3 separate regions of the Homo sapiens genome follow, and regions 1 and 3 are each linked to region 2. The links are contacts of gene promoters, found by promoter capture Hi-C in human tissues and cell types (Jung and others, 2019). All regions are on one chromosome and are shown on one strand. The core of a region is centred on a gene start or on the middle of the fragment in contact, and the rest is flanking DNA. Distances in the headings are between cores, read along the strand shown. Region 1 has its middle 43 kb from the start of APELA. Region 2 holds the start of TRIM61 (tripartite motif containing 61). Region 3 overlaps SMIM31 (small integral membrane protein 31).

Evidence for each region. Contacts are between HindIII fragments. The study calls those that stand out against the background at their distance.
Region 1: a fragment that was not itself captured here is called in contact with the fragment with the promoter of TRIM61 in region 2 in 2 of the 25 tissues and cell types used here (H1 embryonic stem cells and mesenchymal stem cells).
Region 3: a fragment that was not itself captured here is called in contact with the fragment with the promoter of TRIM61 in region 2 in 1 of the 25 tissues and cell types used here (thymus).

What each region holds. Positions count from the first base shown.
Region 1 is chr4:164,832,392-164,835,452 of GRCh38, reverse strand. No RefSeq gene overlaps it. Among named protein-coding and RNA genes, the nearest start is that of APELA, 43 kb to the left of the region's middle. The HindIII fragment of the contact is 4,934 bases long and covers 1-3,061 here.
Region 2 is chr4:164,976,146-164,979,342 of GRCh38, reverse strand. TRIM61 (tripartite motif containing 61) reads left to right here and starts at 1,686. Exons shown (of 3, transcript NM_001414904.1): 1 at 1,686-1,812; 2 at 2,518-2,655. RefSeq lists enhancers at 1,408-1,467, 1,498-1,577. The HindIII fragment of the contact is 6,036 bases long and covers 1-2,192 here.
Region 3 is chr4:164,754,166-164,757,228 of GRCh38, reverse strand. It overlaps SMIM31 (small integral membrane protein 31), which reads right to left. Exons shown (of 3, transcript NM_001352885.1): 1 at 2,818-3,063. Among named protein-coding and RNA genes, the nearest start is that of SMIM31, 1.6 kb to the right of the region's middle. The HindIII fragment of the contact is 6,494 bases long and covers 1-3,063 here.

The DNA of each region.
Region 1 (3,061 bases), core at 234-2,733, 140 kb after region 2:
TGGCTCACGCCTGTAATCCCAGCACTTTCGGAGGCCAAGGCAGGCAATCACTTGAGATCCTTTGGGAGGCTGAGGCAGGTGGATCACTTGGGCAGGCTAGGAGTTGAAGACTAGCCTGGCCAACATGGCAAAACCCTGTCTCTACAAAAAATATAAAAAATTAACTGGACAGGGTGGTGCGTGCCTGTAGTCCCAGCTACTCGGGAGGCTGAGACACGAGAATTGCTTGATCCAGGGAGGTGGAGGTTTCAGTGAGCTAAGATCATGCCACAGCACTGCAGCCTGTGTGACAGAGCGAGACCTTGTCTCAAAAAAAAAAAAAAAAGTAAAGACATAATTTAAAAAAATTATCTTAGAGTGTATTTTAGGAAAAAAAAATGTCCTGGGTGATTATTTCATTACTTCTTATGCCTTAAGCTTTCAACACCTTCTTCCCTTCCTCTTAATCATTCTCAGTTTTGACTTTGCTTCTTTATTATTTCACTGATTAAAATGGGAGCACTCACAGAGAAAATCTGCCACATCTCTTCGCCGTCCACCTCAGTCTGTGTAGACTGTTCTTTTCTGATGCTCCTAGCCTGTTGCTACGCTCCCGCCTGTCAGTCTGGTGCTGTTCATTATTGTGTTCACGCAATGATGGTCTTCCGAATCTAGAGCCAACACTTTCCGTGTCTGTCTACTGTAGCTTTCATAGTTAAAATTTTCATTTATGTAACAATCCTCATTTATTAACATATCTTCATAATATTAACATTTTTAGAGATGACAAATAAAAGGTCATGAGTTGAAAGAATCAGAGTGTATGTGTGTTTGTGTGTATTTGTGTATATATGTGTGAAAAAGAGATTTTGCTAGGGAAAGAGCAAATGACAGAAAATATTTATTCATTTCTTAATTATTATTTTATTTTTATTATTTTTTAATTTTTTGTTTGCTTGTTTTATGAGACAGTGTCTCACTCTGTCACCCAGGCTGAAGTGCAGTGGCATGATCTTAGCTCACTGCAACCTCCGCCTCCTGGGTTCAGGAGATCCTCCTGCCTCAGCCTCCTGAGTAGCTGGGACTACAGGTGCACGCCACCATGCCTGGCTAATTTTTGTATATATTTTTTTGGTAGAGATGGGGTTTTGCCAGGTTGTCCAGGAGGGTCTCCAACTCCTGGGCTCAAGCAATCCACCTGCCTCCACCTCCCAACGTGCTGGGATTACAGGCGTGAGACACTGCACCAGGCCAGTATTTATTCATTTCCGAAGATTGGGACAGAGACATAGAAGTCAACTTTTATTTCAGATTTCACTCTTTCTACTAAATGTTTATATTCTAATTATAAAAGCAAATTGAAAGGAAAATTGGCATAAATAAATAAATTTTCCCATCATCCTTTGTACCCCGACCCCATTCTGCCCTTAGGTCCATCAGACTATGAAATTCCCTCGCCAGGTACCTTGTCTTATTACTCTTGCTCTATTGCTCAGGCTGGAATCTTGCCTTGTCACCCAGGCTGGAGTGCAGTGGTGTGATCTTGGCTCACTCCTGGGTTCAAGCAATTCTCCTGTCTCAGGATCCCGAGTAGCTGGGATTACAAGCCCGCACCATCACGTCCAGCTAATTTTTGTTTTAGTAGAGACGGGGTTTCACCATGTTGGCCAGGCTGGTCTCGAACTCCTGACCTCAGGTGATCCACTCACCTCGGCCTTCCAAAGTGCTGGGATTACAGGCGTGAGCCACTGTGCCCAGCCTCCTTGTCTTATTACTCTTGGTGTCTGCCCAGTTTCTGTGCCTAACACACAGTTGTTGTTCAGAAAATATTTGCTAAATGAATAAATGTATTAACTTATTTCAATCACTTTTTATACATTATCTTGTAAAGTGAGGAAATTTGTATTTTTAAAATTTATTCAACACATTTATTATATTTTTACTATATTTTAGCCATTTGGATAGATCCTGGGATTGGATTCAATGGTGAACAAAGACAAACATGGCTTAGTAATGGTCTGCATATTCAGGGCTCATAAATTCCAAGATACAGGCTAGATGAATTATTTTATGCTGTAACTCAATAGACGTGATGAAAACTCACAGCTGGAAGGAAGTTTAGGTAGAATCTAATCTAATGGGCTTATTTCATAGATGAGGTAACTGAAGTCAAGAAAGTTTAAGTGATTTGCTCTTATATCATACAATTGCAGCTCATATCATAGCTGTGAACTCCCTTCCATGGCTTTATCCACCAACATTCATCTTGTTGCCAAGCATTCGAATATGTAGGCAAGCTTTTTGTTGTTGTTAATAAATGGATTCTTGTGAATTGTGAATTGTTTGCATCTGAATTTAATACAACCTTTAACTTTCAGGTTCACGTGGTCATCTGTTCTTTGCAACTTGTCATTTATAGAGTATTTATGATAATATCTTCATTTGGGAAATTAGATGAGCTGTGTTCCTTGGAAGTGCTTCAGAAATGCTGATTCATTTCAAAAAGAAACACTTGATTAATCTGTTGCAGCAGCAGTGGGCAAACTATAGACCACAGGCCAAATCTGGCCTGATACTTATTTTTGTACAATTCAAGAGCTAAGAATGATTTTTATGTTTTTGAATAGTTAAACATGAAAAGAAGAGTAGTATTTTCTGACATTTGAAAATAACATGAAATGCAAATTTTAGAATCCATTATTACAGTTTTATCAGAATGCAGCCATGTGCATCTGTTTAAGTGTTGTCTATGGCTGCCTTCTGAGTACAACAGCAAAGTGAAATAGTTGCAACAGAAACTATATGGCACTCAAAGCTTAAAATATTTATCATGGTGGGCGCACTGGCTCACGCCTGTAATCCCAGCACTCTGGGAGGCCGAGGTGGGCAGATCACTGAGGCCAGGAATTTGAGACCAGCCTGGCCAACATGGCAAAACCCTGTCTCTACTAAGAATACAAAAATTAGCTGGGTGTGGTGGCACATGCCTGTGGTCTCAGTTACTCGGGAGGCTGAGGTAGGAGAATCGCTTGAATTCAGGAGGTGGAGGTTGCAGTGAGCCAAGATGACACTACTGCACTCC
Region 2 (3,197 bases), core at 437-2,936:
GCTTTATCGGTTGATTTGTCTAGGTCACACCTCTATTCAACTGTCCACCATACACCCTTTCTAGGATATATTAAAGGCATCGACGGGTCTTTATTCCACAATTCAAATCTTAGTACTTCATGTTTAAAATGCTTCACTGGCTTTTCTTTGCATTTGATAAAAACCAATATCCTCAATTTTGCCTAAAGGGCCTTGCAGCATTCATTCTCGCCTATCTCATCAGCCTCACAAAGCCATTTTCCATATTTTATACTTCTTGCAATTTCCCACGTTGTAGTGCCAACCAAATGACCTCTTTCAGTTCCTTTTGTACCAAGTTTTTAAAAATTATCATCTCTAGGCAGGGCGCGGTGGCTCACGCCTGTACTCCTAGCACTTTGGGAGGCCGAGGCGGGCGGATCACGAGGTCAGGAAATCGACACCATCCTGGCTAACACGGTGAAACCCCGTCTCCACTAAAAATACAAAAAATTAGCTGGGCGTGGTGGCAGGCACCTGTAGTCCCAGCTACTCTGGAGGCTGAGGCAGGAGAATGGCGTGAACCCGGGAGGCGGAGCTTGCAGTGAGCCGAGATCACGCAACTGCACTCCAGCCTGGGCCACAGAGCGAGACTCCGTCTCAAAAAAAAAATAAAAATAAAAATAAAATTATCATTTCTGGCTGGGTGAGGTGGCTCACGCCTGTAATCCTGGCACTTTTGGGAGGCCGAGGCGGGCGGATTGCCTGATCTCAGGAGTTCGAATCCAGCCTGGGCAACACGATGAAACCCCGTCTCTACTAAAAATACAACAACAAAAAATTAGCCAGGCGTGGCGGCGTGCGCCTATAGACCCAGCTACTCGGGAGACAGAGGCAGGAGAATTGCTTGAAACTGGGAGGCAGAGGTTGCAGAGAGCCAAGATCGCGCCACTGCACTCCAGCCTGGGCGAAAGAGAGATTCCGTCTCTTATTAAAAGAAAAAAAAATCATTTCTAAAATATTTTGTAGACGCAGGGTCTGGCAATGTTACCTAGGCTTGTCCTGAACTCCTGGCCTCAAGCGATCCTCCCACCTCTGCCTCTGAAAGTGCTTGGATTACAGGTGTGAGCCACTATGCCCGGCCTGTACTAAATTCTTTAAAGTTGAGAGGCTCCACATTGGCTCTTCTTCCAGCCTTGAAGACTTTGACCGTGGAATTGATCCAACGAATGCCTCTTCATCCCTCAAATTCCGCCTGAAATGTCACTTCCTCAGGTAAACCTGAGTTCATAGGGTAGGGCACAATCCCACAGGGTGGGAGAGATCCACCCACTCACCCACTGAGATGCAAACTAATCCAAAGGGGCTTCTATTCCTCTTTCAAGCATAGGGAGTGCTCAACGACTCCACCCTGCGACCCCAGGCTACGGGAAGCAGTTGACCCTGCAAAGCTCTCCACTCCCTCACCATCTGGGAGGGGACGCTGTGCTGGTGAAGCTTTTAAAACCAACTTGCAGACTTACTTGGACCCTCAAGTTTACTCATATACATAAAAAGTGATAAGAATCCGAAAAGACAGCCAGGGGAATTAAATGCCAGTTGGGGCCAACGGGGCCCTGATCACGGAAGAGGGCGCCCCCAGCTCTCAATCTTCACACAATCCCTGCACCCAGGGTCACAGAGCATGCGCAGGTCCTTCCCGCCCACTTCCGGGGCAACTGCCAACCACCGCGCAGGCTGAGCCCCAGGCAGGAAGCAGCCCACTTGGTGGGGTTGGGGTATGAGTCCTTCCTCGCGGGGGCTCGGTGGGTCCTGAGTATTCTTTGGCCGGATTTGCTGATCCGTCTGCTCCAGGTGAGCTGGGAAGGCCGCAGGAAAGGCCCAGAAGGGCCTCGCCAGGAGGCTTAACTGGACAGGGGCTTCTTGAACATTCTCTGTGCCTAAACCTCCGGGTCGCTGCCTGCCCACGACTGGATCTCCTTAGTGTCTGGCGTAGCTCTTGTGAAAAATTCAGGATTGTAGAGTTAGAATGGGGGTGTTGAGCCTGTATCAATTAAGCTTTAAATGTTATGATCTGAATTAGGGTTTATGAAGTGGCTATGTTATCTTCAAAGAGTTAATGTACGTGTTTGGGAGTGGGGGTTGGGGAGTTAAGGGAGCGAAGTGGTAGCTGCCAGTTGAGAACCCACCAGCCTACGTCGTCTGCACCCTCGACCTATGTAAGCATCCTGTAATCCTCACAAGGGTCTTACAGGTACGAATTATCATTTCAACTTTGTAGATGAGGCGCTTTAGGTGCAGGCATGTTAAGAATCAGCCAGTATGATGATGGTTGAAACTGAGAGCTTGGAATCTACCACAGGTTTTATTTATTCCTCAAACAAGCTAGAGACGTATTGCCACCAAGAAGCTTGCTGCCTGGTGAGGGGTTTTTACAGTTAGGTAAAGAATTGCAGAGTAGCTGTAAAATCACATAACTGTGATATGTGACATGATGGGAGCTAGGCAAAAAACTTGGACTAGATCTTAATGGATCTTTTTGCTTTGTTTTCCTTAAAGCATAGGTTCACAAAGTACAGTCCGCAGGCCAGCAGCATCATCTGGGAACTTAGGAAAAAACCAGCCCTACTGAGTCAGAAACTGGGGATGTGGCCCAGGCAATCTTTTACCAAGACCTCCAGGTGATTATAATGCAAGGTAAGATTTGAGAATTGCTTCCATAAAGTAATAAAGGACCAGTGGAATGTTTTCAGTTGAAATATGAAAGGATTCTGTTTGTATTTGAAAAGGTCAGTTTAGCTACAGACTTCAGAAATTGGAGGCACCATTGTGTATCTAGGAGAGAGACATAAGTGGTTTAAACTAGGGTGGTGACTGTGCCTACAGAGCTGTTCTGTTCACTTAATGTCCTGATTTTAAATAGTAGAGAAGACTGCTTTGGGTGTATGCTTGGGGAAAGGAGGGCACAATGATACCTGGAGTGAGTCCTCTTGTGTCCTTTATGAAGGGGTGGCCTGCCCCTCCACACCTGTGGGTATTTCTAGTCGGGTGGGACGAGAGACTGAGAAAAGAAATAAGACAGAGACAAAGTATAGAGAAACAACAGTGGGCCCAGGGGACCGGCGCTCAGCATACCAAGGACCTGCACCGGCACCGGCCTCTGAGTTCCCTCAGTTTTTATTGATTATTATTTTCATTATTTCAGCAAAAAGGAATGTAGTAGGAGAGCAGGGTTATAA
Region 3 (3,063 bases), core at 456-2,955, 220 kb after region 2:
GGACATTTCACAAAGGAACATATGCAAATGACCAATAAACCTAAGAGAAAATGCTTAACGACATTCATCATCAGATACACGCAAATAAAATCACAATAAGATAGCATTGCCTAACCACTAACATAGCTAAAATCAAAGCCAAAACCCTAAGAGTGGCAAAGATGTGTAGTAACTGAAATGCTCATACAATGTTAGGGTGTTAAAATGATACAATTCCTTTGAAAAAAATCTCTGGAAGTCTTTTATAAAATAAACTATAACTACAGTATGACCTAGAAGTTCCACTTCTGGGTATTTACACAACAGACTGAAAACATATGTTCAGAGAAACACTTATCTCCCATAGCAGGCTTATTCATACTAGCCAAGAATTGGACAAAACTCAGGCGTCCATTGACAAGAGAATGGATACACAAATTACATATTTACATAATGGAATCCTACTCAACATTAAAAAGAACGATTTTGTGATACATACAAGACAAATGAATCTGAAGAAAACATTGAACATACATACTATGTAGAGAGGAAGATTGTTTACATCTGGAGGCAGGGGTAGAACTTGATTAGGTAAAAGGAAAGAGCATTCTAGATCTGGAGCCATATTGATGTTCTCTATATCTTTTTATTTGTTTATATTATTATTATTTTTTTTTTGAGACAGAGTCTCGCTCTGTCCCCCAGTCTCGAGTGCAGTGACGTGATCTCGCCTCACTGCAAGCTCCGCCTCCCAGGTTCATGCCATTCTCCTACCTCAGCCTCCTGAGTAGCTGGAACTACAGGCGCCCACCACCACACCTGGCTAATTTTTTTTGTATTTTTAGTAGAGACAGTGTTTCACCATGTTAGCCAGGATGGTCTTGATCTCCTGACCTTGTGATCCGCCTGCCCCAGCCTCCCAAAGTGCTGGGATTACAGGCGTGAGCCACCGCACCCGGCCTATTATTACTTTTTAAAGTTTCCTTTTTAAAGAAATTTTACTTTAAGTTCTGGGATACATGTGCAGAGATGTTCTCTATATCTTGACGGGGGTTTGGATTACATAGATGTACATATCCATTAAAATTCATTGAATCATAACACTAATGATTTGTGCATTTCACTCTAATTGAATTTTATCTCAAGAAAATAGTTAAACAAATATTGACTTCTAGTTAGTGATATACTTTCCTAAATGTTTAGGGGTAAAGTTTACTGAGGTCTTCAACTTTAAAAGGTATCATAAAAATAAAGAAGGTGAATCAGTGGACGTACAGAGAGATGATAATATGTAAAGAAGCCAATATAGCAAAATGCTAATTGTACAATCTACATGGAAGGCATTTGGATGTTCATGATACAATTATTTCAATTTTTCTCTATGTTTGAACAATTTTCATAACAACGTGTTGGGAACTAAAAGGCTTTGCTACTACTGCATTCCAAAGAATTTTTTAAATTGTTGATGATGTAATTGCTAGTCTCTGTCCCACCAGAGACTGGTGTGAAACTGGGTGTGTTTTTTATATTTTATCACATGGGACAAAAGGCAAATCAATAACATCAGTTTCATTCAATTTCAATTTTCAAGGCATATCCCATAATACTTCAGCTCAGATTTGCAGGTTGAATATCTAGAACAACACAATGCTGGCCACAGATTTCCCTCCCCTCCCCTCCCCTCCCCTCCCCTCCCCTCCCCTCCCCTCCTCTCCTCTCCCTCCCTTCCCCTCTCCTCCCCCCTCCTTTCCTCTCCTTTCCTTTCTGTTTGAGACAGAGTCTCCCTCTGTAGCCCAGGCTGGAGTGCAGTGGCGTGGTCTCAGTTCATGGTAACCTCCGCCTCCTGGGCTCAAGTGATTCTCCTGCCTCAGCCTCCCGAGTAGCTGGGATTACAGGCACACACCACCGTGTCCAGCTAATTTTTGCATTTTTAGTAGAGACAGGGTTTCACCGTTTTGGCCAGGCTGGTCTTAAACTCCTGACCTCAAGTGATCTTCCTGCCTTGGCCTCCCAAAGTACTGGGATTACAGGCATGAGCCACCGTGCCTGGCTGTGGCTGTGGATGATAGAAAAATATTTCTAATTAAATTAAATCATACGACTTCACTCAGTTCTTATACTTTTCTACTGCTGAAAATATGATACCATATTTTGGTGAAAGCAAGAAATAATTTCAAAGGAAATATTTTTAAGGGATGTAGTTAAATAATTATTTATTTTAAGTTTAAGGCTAAAAGCAGATAAATGACAGTATTTCCTCCTGAGTATTTCTAAAGGCTTTTAATAACATAAATCTGATGATAGAAAAATATTTCTATCATACTCAGGAGGAAATACCGTCATTTATCTGCTTTTAACCTTAAACTTAAATAATTATTTAACTACATCCCTTAAAAATATTTCCTTTGAAATTATTTCTTGCTTTCACCAAAATATGGTACCATACTTTCAGCATAGAAAAGTATAAGAACTGAGTGAAATCGTATGATTTAATTTAATTTGGTTAATTCTACCTTGGAATTAAATACAAATACATATCTTCTGGCTTTGGAAAAAAACAAAACTAGGACAAATAAACCAAACATAGCAAAAGAGAAGAAAAATATTCTGAGGGGGAGTTGTTCTACAAAACAGAAAATTTTCCTTCCCTCTTTAGCCATTTTTTTTAACAGCAAAAAAAAAAAAAAAAAAAAAAAAATACCTCCAGGAAAGAACAATAAGTAAAATTTCTTAGCTGTGGCAGTTAAATATTACATTTCTAGTCCATATGAATTAGTTAAAAAAAAAAAAGAGAGAGAGTTTTGAGGTAAATAAAATAGGGGATTTATAAAAACTTACCAGAAGCATTCCTGTCCCTGAGAGTGGCTAGGAAGGAACCCGTGAGTCTGATTCAAACAGAGTCTTCAGTGTCTTGGGATTCGGGACTGAATGGCCTGTGTCTGTTAATGAACATTTTCACTGAACGCTACCAGGCCATGAAAATGTAGGCACTTCCTGATGCCACTTCACTAACCAAGGCTTACTAATGTCTTAGCTGGAGTTTTAATCAGGACTTGACTAAGAGGAATCTGTACCTCTAAAAAA